Linked DNA regions of Homo sapiens: region 2 is linked to region 1. The links are contacts of gene promoters, found by promoter capture Hi-C in blood cells and fetal thymus (Javierre and others, 2016). All regions are on one chromosome and are shown on one strand. Each heading gives the region's core, a stretch centred on a gene start or on the middle of the fragment in contact. The rest is flanking DNA. Distances are from core to core; before and after follow the strand shown. Region 1 holds the start of IL22RA2 (interleukin 22 receptor subunit alpha 2). Region 2 overlaps LOC105378017 (a long non-coding RNA gene).

Region 1 (6,113 bases), core at 2,407-4,906:
GGTTTGGAGGCTTTAAAACTGTAATACTAGGCTTTGTGGCCATAAAAGGTGGATGCCTACTGCTTCCCTGTCTCTTGCCATTTCTAATCGGAAGCATCCAATCCACCATAGACTCAATGGTAGACAGACATACCACCATCCGAATAAAGGCTCTGCAAAAGTACCAACTGGTATCCCAAGATGAGTATGTACCCACTCAAGAAGAAATAGCTAACTGTGGTGCTCTTTATTAATCTACATTTGTGTCGAGCACCAAAAGGGGGAAATGAAGAAGGAATTAATGAAATCAACTATAACCTAAGAGTAGTAGTAATACAAATTTTAAAATCCTTTTAAAGTTCCTGCAAAATGTGACCCCTGCCTTACATTCACGTTAAAAGGGAATATTAACAGCCTGTCTTCTCTCTGTGGACAGTGGACCTTATCTATACTCCCCAACTCCACATTCCTCAAAGTTTATTACAGGCCCAGTGAGTTCCTGCATGACTGCAGGGTCACAAGACTGATAAGTTTAGGCTGCAAGACATGTCTTTCTCAAAATGTAACAAACGTTGTAATACTGCCTTTGTTTCTTGCTTCTGTAACTCGATTCCCGCCTCACGTAGTTCCCACCTTAAGATATTTAAAAGTAGGAAAAGCCCTTTGTTTGGGGCTCAGACTAGCTGAGCCGGTGATCACCTTAATTTAATAAACTTTCCTGAACTTTCGGTCTCTTCAGTCTTTGATCATCCCGCAACAGACCCAGGGCTTACATACCACCGGGAAAGGGCCTGCGTGATTCAGAAGGGATGTATATGACAATTGAAGTATCATAACATCAAGGTGGTTTTGACGTACAGGCAGGACTTATGACAAGTATGTGTTCTCATACAAGGAACAATCGATAAACTAGAAATCTTAGAAGCCTTCCTGAAAAAGGATTAATCAGAAGTCAACATGGCAGATTAGCATCTAAAAATGAAGTTGCTTCAGCCTCCGCAAGTCATAAAGGTTTTTTTGTTGTTGTTAAAAAGAGAGGCTCTTTAGATCAAAAGGGGAAATGTATACTGGTTTCTATTTTCTCTTGTATAGTCTCTTTCAAGTTCTTGGTAGAATAGCTCCTTTAGTAAGGAATAATGATGGCTGCTAAGCAGTATCCATCCATGCAGCTATCCAATAACATTTCACAAATATTTGCTGTCCTACCATAAACTAGGAATTAGTCTCAGCAGCAAGGATGCAGCAGCAGATAAGAGAGACATTGCCCCTGCCTTCCTTAAGCTTGCTTCTCAAGGGAAAAGTAGAGAATAAGGAGCTACAGCAGGGTTACAACTTCTATTCATCTAACCTTCTCTGTCTTTTTCTTCTCCTTCTTAAATGGGAGATGAAAAGTTTCAGAAGCCGGCTTGCAAAGCCACTTTGCCTCCCACCCTCCATCACAACCATTAACCAAGACTAGAATGTAGGAGGGGAAGCAGGTAAAATGAAAGTGCTAAAAGGAGAGGGTTGGGTGCTGCTGATGTGGAGGAGGCAGAGTCTTCAAAGAGAAAGGGAAGAATGGCCTTCTGCATACAGACAGGAGCAGAGGAGTTGTTCTCAAGTGTAGACCCTCCATCCCAACCCCATGACCCAGCACCTGTGAACATTTCTAGACACTCGGGTGCCTGAGACTGTGAGGCCTTGGGTGGAGCTGGGGCCACGCAGGGAAAACCTTATTCCTGAGCAAAGGGTCTTAGAAGAGAGCTTATCAGAAATTTCCTCAGAAACCAGATCCCAGTGGACCAGGCCACTATCAATTTTCATTTAACAAATTTCAGTTATTGGAGGGCAGTTGCGCTGCATGCTTTCTGAGGCCAGCCCTATGTGGAAAGGTTTGTGTGGATAACATCAGGTTTCCCAGTGCCTCTGTTCTACGGCAGTCTTCTGAATCCAGGCTTGTATCTCCTCCAGCTGAAGTTTTTGGTGCTTATAAGGTAGCTTCTGCTTTGAAAGAAGAAACATGCAGCACGTTTTATGTTCCCTTTTCACCTCTTCATGCTCCTTAGCTTGCAACCTTCTCAGCATTGTTATTCACTTCCCTGCTAATGTTTACCACTTCACATTTACTTTGGTATTTAAATGGGGGATGATAATGTGGGTTTGCACTATTGATGTTCAATGGCTTCAATACCAATAGATCTCATTTTGAAGCCACCAAATTGCTCCAAGTTCCAGCTAAGAATAAAAGGAAAATATTTAAATTCGAGGTTTTATGATGAGAGCAGCAGAGAACGAAATTGAGGTTTCCACTGGGTTGCTGACTTTGTCAAACAAATGAGGGGAAATTAGGCGGAGTGGGATAAGCAAAACATATTTAAGAACTGAATTCTCCCCAAAACGTGAGCTTTGGTGCTCTATTAAATTTCACAAACCAGACCAGTTCTGTCACTGTTCAATTAGCTCTAGTTGTGTAATAGAACCTGCATAAAAGCCAACACTGTCAACAAGGCCTCAAGGTAGATGAAAAGATAAAATTAAATTCTAATTTCCCATCAATCTGGAAGCAGAAGAATTTGTACAGAATTGTTTCAAATGAAATGCTGTTTTGTTTGGGAAGTAAGAAAGTTTTAGTCACTAGGGGATCTCCGCTCTGCCTCCTTTCAGGCATGAAATGCTGGCTTCATTCCCTGCCCTCCCCCGACCTCGGCCCCACTCCGCAGCAGGGAGAGTCCACCTTGACGGTGACAACGGGTATTTCCATCATCGTGTTGACTCTGGAGAGAACTTGCTTAAGCCCCTGTCTTGAACAGATTTGATTCTCTTCTTCCTTTCTTCTTGTGGCTTCCAGCAGACCAACCATTTATCTAATTAAGGAATCATTTTTCATTGTTTTTAGGTGTGATGTGGAATTTTGGTTATTATTTTTATTTTTTTTTAGAGCTACCTATTATAGTACTACAGATGAAATGGTGTCATGTCTGGGATTTGCTTCAAAATAATACAAAGGCCTGGGAAAGGGGGTTACCATCCATGAGCTGATAACTGTTGAAATTGGGTGTCAGGTTTATTATACTCTACTTTTGTATGTACTTAAAATTGTTCATAACAAAGAAAAAAGATTTTTAAAGTTTATCTACAAGATGTGGCCAGACACGGTGGCTCACACCTGTAATCTCAGCACTTTGGAAGGCGGAGGTGGGTGGATCATTTGAGGTGTGGAGTTCCAGACCAGCCTGGCCAACATGGTGCAACCCCGTCTGTACTAAAAATACAAAAATTAGCCAGGCGTGACGGTGTGTGCCTGTAATCCCAGCTACTCAGTGGGGCTGAGGCAGGAGAATTGCTTGAGTCAAGGAGGTGAGGTTTGCAGTGAGCCGAGATCGCGCCACTGCGCTCCAGTCTGGGCAGCGATAAAGCGAGAGTCCATCTCAAAAAAATAAATAAATAAATAAATAAAGTTTACTTACCAGATGCTGTCTTCCTTTTGGTAATTTTAATGCCATTTTAGTGTCAATAATAAGATCTAATAATTATGGGACGCCATGTTATGTTTTTCCCATATTTTGTCTTTGTTAATCCTCTTATGAAGTCTAGGAGATTGGTATTATTATTCATTTGATGTTACAGATGAAGAAACTGAGACATAGATAGAGAGGTGGAGAGAACTTGACCAGGGCTCTATAGCGAGTAGTGGTAAAGTGAGGGCTGAAATCAGATCTGGTTAGCCTCAGGGCCTGAGGAGTATTATGAAACTCCTCTTGTGTTATTCTTTGCTTGTAATAGACATTCCATAAAGGGATAGAATGATGTCAAAGAACATTTGTCCATTGGCTTCTCGAATCGTTTATTCAGTCAAACAAATGTTTATTGAGCAACTGTTATATGCCAGGCACTGTGTTAGACATCGGGGATGCAGAAATGAACAAGACTACAGAGCCAGCCCTCAGGGAACCAACAGCATTTTCTTCAACCAGGTCTTGGTAGCAAAGGGCTAAGTGTTTCTTATTGTTTTTCAGAGAAGTGTTTAAAAACTGGTGTTCAGTATGACTTTGGTGCTGTCCATTGAAGGGAAGTCAGAGCAACTGTGTTTCTGCTAGGCCCTTTCCTTCATCCTATGATTTGGTGGGCAGCTGAGCATCTTTTAAAAGTTTCATCATGAATGATAATCTGAACACCACCCTTCTCCCTCTCTGGAAAACTATAGAGCTGTAGAGCCAACAACAGGGAAACAACTTGTTCTTTCTTATTTGCTGGGACATTAATAGCTCCACCGAGTAATATTCATGTCCTTTAAGCAGTTCGGCATTCTGGAAATAATTGGCATGCAAAAATTCAAAATGGTTTGTGAACTTGAATTCAGAAAAGAAAAAGAAACATTGTTATTCAAACACAGGTGATAAGCACAATGACTAATCTGAGTTTTTGGACTGTGATCACTAATATATTATTTAAAATCTCCACTCATAGGACATAGGGCTTAATGAGGTTAACCTTTCCTGCTCTTCACTCTTATTTTTCTGGATAAAAGATGCTATTGATTTTGCTTTGATTATTCTTTAAAAAATTTTTTAAAATTTATTTCTGAAAACCAAAACATAAAGGAGTGGTAACATTTAAAAAATATGTATTTTTTTTATTTCAGTAGCTGTGCAATAGTGCAAGTGGTTTTTGGTTACCTGGATGGATTGCACAGTGGTGAAGTCTGAGATATTATTGCATCTCTTACCCGAGTAATGTACATTGTACCCAATATGTAGCTTTGATTATTCTTCACCCAAGGTCACCTTGAAACCCCTACCAGATATCATCAATCATTATGCCCATGCACCAGTATGTTTGTATGTATTGTTTGATCCTGAAAATATCTTCATGGCATAACCAGAATCCAACTGGTTTTCACCTCCTCCACTGTACCCATTTGGTAACCTGCTATCATCATCTCTTGTGTGGACTGTGGCCACAGCCTCCTTACTGGTCTGCCTGCCTCTGTCACTGTTCTCTGCATCAGGTGGAGTGTTCCTATTAAATGTCAGAATAGAACATTTTATTCAGAACCCTGTGATGCCTTCCCATCTCACTCAGATTGAAAGTCAACATTTTTCCAGTCCCTTACTAAGCCCTATATAACCAGGTCCTGTTACCTCTAAATTTATTTCCTACTGCTCTCCTCCCAACCCATGGTGCTCCCTCCTGGGTGGTCTTTTTGCTGTTTCTCAAACATATCAGGCACATCCCTACATTAGCAAGGTTCCCTCTGCTCCAATGCTCTTCCTGAGATGTCCAGGCTCACTCCCTCACCTCCTTCATGTCTCTGCTCAAATATTATCTTATCAGTGAATTCTATGACACCCAAAATAGCAGTCCCCAACAGCTGTCCCTGGCACCTTTATCTGTTTGTTTTCCAAAACATTTATCATCATTTGGCAGGCTATGTTTCATTTTATTCTTGTTGTCTATCTCCCCAACTAGGATATAAGCTCCACGAGGTCAGGGATGTTATGTGTTTTGTTCACTGCTTTAACTCTAGCACTTAGGACAAGGCTGGGGACACAGTAAGCCCTTATCACATGTCTAGTGAATCAAAAAAAAGGAATGTGATTTTAGCAACTGCCATGAATTTACAAGAATTAAGCTAAAGGAACGGGAAGGTGCTTTTCTGCTTTTTATGGTCTGAAGTAGGAGTCCTGAGGGGAAGGGGCTGAGATTCTGTGGACTGTGAGGTTACTATGGTCAGATACTCACGAGCTCAGACACTCATGGGCAACAATGACCTTTGCAAAATCATGCAATGTTGCAGTCAGCTCGTCAGTTGGATAAATTAATCTGAGTGACCTAGGAATTATCTGCTTCTTAAGGATACATAGATTTCCCTGAGAAATCATCTGGGTGCTTTTGGAATTTGGGGGCAGAAAATACAGGATAGTATTATCTGACAATTTTCTAATTCTTCTATGGTAATTAGTGTGTTTCGATTTTTTTTTTATCTCATCTAGATTCAGTTGCTACAAAGTATATTTTCTTTAGAAGACTATCCTTTTTATTCATGCCTTTAAATTTATTGGTACAGAGTTGTGCAAGTTATTCCTTTATGATTTATTTAATTCTCCTTTTTCTGTGACTTCCCTTTTATAATTTTCTGTTTTGAGTAATGATTT
Region 2 (6,251 bases), core at 1,204-3,703, 130 kb after region 1:
TGTTTGTAGCCCATTAAAGAAAAATAAAGTTTTCCTAAATTTGGGATTCCTTGGCTATTGTAACCAAATTCATGTTCAGCTGCTCACTGCTTGAAAAGCCAGACATGAGAAGTGAGGATTAGTGGGAGGAAAGCAGGTTTCTTCAAGTGCTAGAAGCTTGAGGAAACAGCCTGACTCAACTCTCAAAAAACCATCTCAAATTCTCAGTTTGGCTAAAGAGGTTTAAAGGGGAAAGGTGGCATGGAAACTATGCACCAGCATGGTGCGGGGTGCAAGTTTGCTTGTAATTTTCTGGTGACTTTTTTCAGTAATGGACCACCCAGAGGCCTCACTGGCATCATCTCAGCAGGGTTCAGGTTATGGATTAATTGAACACCAATTTTTTCTCAGAAGGGAGAAAATTGCAACTGCTATCTCCACTTTATGCCTACATTATTTCAATATTGGCCACTGGAATTCTCTAGCAAACAGTTACATGTAACAAGGAACAAAGGGAGGGAGGGGTTACTTTTAGAGTAAGCTAGCAAACTGGCTATACTAGTTACAATATGATGCAAACCTCCTTCATGTATCGACCCAGCCCACCTTCATTACTCCAGTGAGACTTAGCAGAACAAGGGGTTGATGTGAATATGAAAACACATGCTACCCGTTGTGTTGGAAGTAAGAAAGTCCTTTGAGTCTAATCCAGAGTCTTGTGGCTTTTGCAATTATCCATGAAATTGTGGCAGGATAAATTGTTAGCTTGCTTTTTGGTAAATAGCTTAGGTCTTCACAGCTCTTGACAGGCAGGACACTGGTGCAAGACTCCAAACTGCAGCAGGATCATGATAAGGGTGTCTTTGAACAACACACTTGGAGTTAGGCATTATCCAGGTAGAACAGAGCTAATAGTTTCTGCTTGATCCATATTGATTATGAATTTGACAAGTTTCTATCACACAGATCACTCAGGAAATCAGTGTTAATGGAAATGATTACACAGGGGACTATAATTTTATTTACAGTATGTGAAAGTTGAAAAACATAGGGACATAAATACAATGTCTAATTAAATTCTGTTTTAATTCCTTTTGGACTGCCGGGACCAGTTCGGTCGGGGAGACCCTAACCTAGTGGCGCTAGAGGAATTAAAGACACATACACAGAAATATAGAGGTGTGAAGTGGGAAATCAGGGGTCTCACAGCCTTCAGAACTGAGAGCCCCGAACAGAGATTTACCCAGTGTTTATTAATAGCAAGCCAGTCATTAGCATTGTTTTTATAGATATTAGATTAACTAAAAGTATCCCTTATGGGAAACGAAGGGATGGGCCAAAATAAAGGGTTGGGTTTGGCTAGTTATCTGCAGCAGGAGCATGTCCTTAAGGATCGCTCATAATATTGTTTGTGGATTAAGAATGCCTTTAAGCAATTTTCTGCCCTGGGTGGGCCAGGTGTTCCTTGCCCTCATTCTGGTAAACCCACAACCTTCCAGCATGGGCGTTATGGCCATCATGAACATGTCACAGTGCTGCAGAGATTTTGTTTATGGGCAATTTTGGGGCCAGTTTATGGCCAGGTTTTGGGGGGCCTGTTCCCAACATTGGACCACTTTTCATCCACTTCCATTCAAAGTCTGGATGATGGAACAAATAAATAAGGTGATCATTAATGTATATATGGATTTTCCATTTTATTTTTCATATTACAAAGTGATATGATAGACTGAATTGAGCCTGAGCTTGAGATTTATTGAAAGCAGATTTTCCTTTATCATCAGCTGTCATTTTAAATATACTAAGGAGAATATGCAACACTGGGATTTATGAGACGTGGCTTGAGTTGCTACACTTTGCCTTGGTGGAAATTCCAGTCTTGTGAGAGATACTGGAATGAAATACATCTTAGTTAGTTTACTGGAGGAACACCATAACATTTGGGTTAAGAGCACAGATAATGAAGATACACTGCCCATGTTTGAATTCTGGCTTTATGTCTACAGCCATACCACCCTGAATGTGCCTGATCTCATCTGAATTCTGTCTTTATCATTTACTAGCTGTGTGATCCGAAGTAAGTTACTTAACCTTTCTAAGCCTCAGTGTTCTCTTTTGTAACATGGGGATAATAGGACTTACCTGATAGGGTTTTTGTGAGAATTAAATGAATGTATACACATGTATAGTTGTGCTTATAATGGTATCTGGCACATATATGTACTGTAAGTTTTTGGTATTATTATACATATATGTACATTATTGGTACATATACTAAGACCAGTATTTCATATCATAAAACTGAGAATAATATCTGAAATAACTATTATTTGAATTTTTCCCTCCCCTCTAAAAAAATGTTAACTTGCTTACAAATAATTACCTGTGTGGAAATGTCTGCAAATAGTCATTACTCTAATTAGTTCATGGAGGATATGTTGGGCCAAATAGATACAGCAATACTTAATTTTCCTTTACAGAGTTAATGGTTTTTAACCCTAACAATTTATCATTCAAAACATCTGAGTGCCTACTATGTGCAAAGTTACATATTGGCCATCTTTTAGCTCAAAAAGATTGTTCCCTACTAATTCTGAGACTAGTAAAAGTCTTCTGTAAAACTCTTTGATAGTCATGAGGGTATTGGGGCTGACAATATGATACCCCAAAGTAAGGCACCTTGGCATGCTGAGTACTTTGAACTAAAGGAGATTGAAAGACTGAGAGGCACGGTCCTTCTGCTCCTCTCCCGTCCTCCTATCTGTTGCCCCTCTTTCTACCACAAAGCGAGTCATAGAAACCAGAATTCCTCTTTCCCAAGGTGGGTCACAGAAACTAGAACCTCTTTCTTCCAAAGCAAGTCATAAAACATATAAAGGTCACTCTCTCCCTTCTCCCTTGAAAATTCTCATTCCAGATGGGTCCTGCCCCATATCCAGGAGGAAAGAAGGCTACACAGGGAGGCCAAAAAGAATCTGATCAGTCAGACCTCACTGGGTTCTGCCCTCAGTCTATTACCCTTTGGTCCAATCACACTTCTACACGGCTACCCATTCTTCATTGATCCTAAGCATAAAAATAGATGGTTTTCCCAGGGTCTTTAGGTCTTCATCTCTGAAGTTTCCCATGTCACATAAAACTTTGATTAAATAAATTTGTTACGCTTTTCTCTTGCTAACCAGTCAGTCTTTTGTTATAGAAATGTCAGCTGTGCTGGATGAGGAAAGGTGTCACATCTTTCTGCCCTTACAAGTGCATAAAGAGGTCTGTTGCTTACAAAATGTCTGGCGCATAATAAACATTCAAAAAAACAATGTGTCATTAGCACTGTCAGGCCCGGCCTATTGTGGAGCGTCTGTAAATGCAGGTGGTGCTAAGTCTGATCACAAAATAACTGAAATCACAGATTACCAATGATTGGTAGTTGGGTTGGGTTAGTAGTTTAAGAAATTATTCCATACTTCATGGGTACAGACCTTTTGTCCTGTGACCCTTGCATTTTAGACTACCTGTCTTTATGTATTTTAGCTTTATCTTTGGCGGGTAGATGAAAAGTCAGCATGTTCTTATTTATTTTTAAAATTTGAGGAACTCCGTGATCAGAAACCGTCGTGTGTGTGTGTGTGTGTGTTTCCATTTTATAGCCTAACTTCCTCTTGGGTCTCATATAGCTTAGTCTATTTTCTAACATGAACTTCCTTCCTTTCTGCATAACAGTGTCTGAATTTGCAGGACTCTGTACCCAATAAGTGTTGTTAACTGATTGGTAATCTGTGATTTCAGTTATTTTGTGATCAGACTTAGCACCACCTGCATTTACAGATGCTCCACAATAGGCCTGACCTGAGAGTGCTAATGACACATGGTTTTTTTAATTGTTTATTATGTGCCAGACATTTTGTAAATAAAATCTCATTTAATAACGTTAAACTGTACTTAAAGCATCTAGTTATTTAGAAGTCACATAGCTGTAAAAACAGCCCACTTGTCAAATCCAATAATTATGAGTATTACTTATCATATTTTATGCTGCGTTAGGTCTAAAGGCATATATAGATATTGCTTATCCTAATATTTTTTCCAAGGCAAAGTGTAGCTACTTAGGTCAAACTGTAAAGTCTAATTATGTTGACACATAGAGCAAGGATTAAGGCATTAAATATTTGGGATTTCTATTCATATTTTAAAAGTCACAGAAAATTACATTTCTTGACCCTTTTTTTTCCACATTTTAATTATGCCAAAAATGATTTTAACTAAACATTTTTCCTTATCAGAAAAAAAACCTGGCTTAAAAACAGTGTCTTCTCTCTATCTCTGGCAATATCAATATTGATATATAAAAAGGACAGTATATACAGGTAACTTTCCTAAGCCTCCCAAGACCCCTTTCATAATCCAGGCTATGTGCTTACTCCATAATGTTGTACAGTCCTGGTGGGGTCTGCTTCGCTGTTTCCAAACTGTGAGGAGCTTTGAAAACCATCCAGTCCCATTTCTTGGTTTTACAGATGGTGAAATGAAGGCCCAGAGAGATAAAATTAACCTAAGCAAAGTCATTGAAGAATAGGAAAGAGTAGTGTAAAATCACACTGCTAGAAAAAAAATCTTCCTTCATAATTAATTTTGAAAATTCCATGTCTAATCTGGAACTAAATATTCCCTGTAAAAGAAAATTCCTTGAATACCATGGATAATGCATTCTAATATCTAACAACCTTTTTAGTCAGAAGTGTCATTCTTGAGTGTAATAACCTCTTTTCATGCAAATTAAGCTTATTTCCACTTGTTAGATGCTTAACAGAGATGGATGATAGTCACTTTAGTAATTATAATCACACAAATGTGCATTAAAATATTTGTCAGTGTTAACTTATGCTCCATTATTTTCTTTGTACTTGCTAAAGAATTCAACATTTAAAATTTTCTAACATGTCTTTGCTTCCCATCCCCAGTTACTGAGACAGAAATCTCAATATCATGATTTGCTCCTCTATATTTTTCACTTTTACCTCTAATAAATTACTAAGGCCTGTTTGGTTTTGTTCCTTTGGTAGCCCTCAAATCTCCCAACCTTAATGTCACAATTTAATTTATACCACAGTCATTTATCACATTTCTCACATTATCACATTTCACTTGTGATAATTGCTGATTGATTAGTCAGCAATTATTGTGACAACAGCCAATTCTAAAATCTTGGTTGTTTAACGAACAAACAAACATTTATTTCTTGTTTGTGTTACATGAAGACAGCAGGTTAACCGCAGGTTTGACTGGGAGGGGTGGGGCTTGCCTGAGTCTAGCCGGGCTTGCCTGACTTTGGCTCGGCTCCACATCTTATGTCATTCCAGGGCTCAGGCTGAGGCAGCAGTTCCTGTTTGAGGTTAACTAGTCTCATGGCCAAGGGAAGAAGCTCAGGAAGGACAGAGCCACATCACATACACTTAAAACTTCTGCTCGGAGGTGGCATATGTTAAGTCCACTAGGATTCTGTTGGCCAGAGTGAGTCCTGTGGCCAAGCTCATAGTTGTTAGGATAGGGCAGTATACTATACCCACAGGAGAGTGTGCTCAGAGTCAGGAGGGAGCCAACAATTGCGAACAAGTAATGGAGTCTATCACAGTTGGTAGCCTGCCTACAGTTGTGTTTCTCTCCAATTCAGCCTCCATACTAACTCACAAACAGGTCAGGTGATACTTAGCAGCCTTAGAATTAAATCCAATCTCCTAACCATGGCTTCAAAGCTCATGTTAGTCTGGCTCCTTTATACCTACTGCTACTTTCATCCCTCTCCATTCCCCATCTGAAACCCTACCCTCTAGGCACAGGAAACCTGTATTAGTTCCCCAGAATAAGCCATAAGTCATATTTCTCTATTGTTAGGGTCTCTGCTCATTTTCTTTCCCCTCTCAGGAACACTCCTACCCACATTTCACCTGGCTCACTTCTGCTGGTCCATCAACGCTTTCCTGACTCTTCACACAGAGTTCAGAACTCATTTTATGTTTTCCCAGAGTATCCTCCGCCCCTCTATCAATACTTACCCCACTGAATTGTAATTGGCTGATTACTTATTTACATCTCTCACTACACTGAAAACTCCCTGGGATGGACACAATTTCTACTGTATTGCACCCCAGTCCTTGGCACAATAACTTATTTAGCAATTGTTTGTTAAATTCATGAGAAAATAATTTTTTTCTGCATCGTGTTATTACTGTATATGTAAAGTCAACCTGATTATAGTACTTTCTCAAAAACTTTCAAAT

Evidence for each region. Contacts are between HindIII fragments. The CHiCAGO score rates a contact against its expected background, and 5 or more counts as called.
Region 2: a fragment that was not itself captured here is called in contact with the fragment with the promoter of IL22RA2 in region 1 in 1 of 17 cell types (neutrophils); the score reaches 5.5 in neutrophils.

The regions. Positions count from the first base shown.
Region 1 is chr6:137,169,988-137,176,100 of GRCh38, forward strand. It overlaps IL22RA2 (interleukin 22 receptor subunit alpha 2), which reads right to left and starts at 3,657. Exons shown (of 7, transcript NM_052962.3): 1 at 3,426-3,657. RefSeq lists enhancers at 1,757-2,515, 2,412-2,631. The HindIII fragment of the contact is 14,362 bases long and covers 1,259-6,113 here.
Region 2 is chr6:137,304,032-137,310,282 of GRCh38, forward strand. LOC105378017 (a long non-coding RNA gene) reads right to left here. Exons shown (of 3, transcript XR_943043.1): 2 at 4,395-4,525; 3 at 1,741-1,870. Among named protein-coding and RNA genes, the nearest start is that of IFNGR1, 88 kb to the left of the region's middle. The HindIII fragment of the contact is 4,598 bases long and covers 155-4,752 here.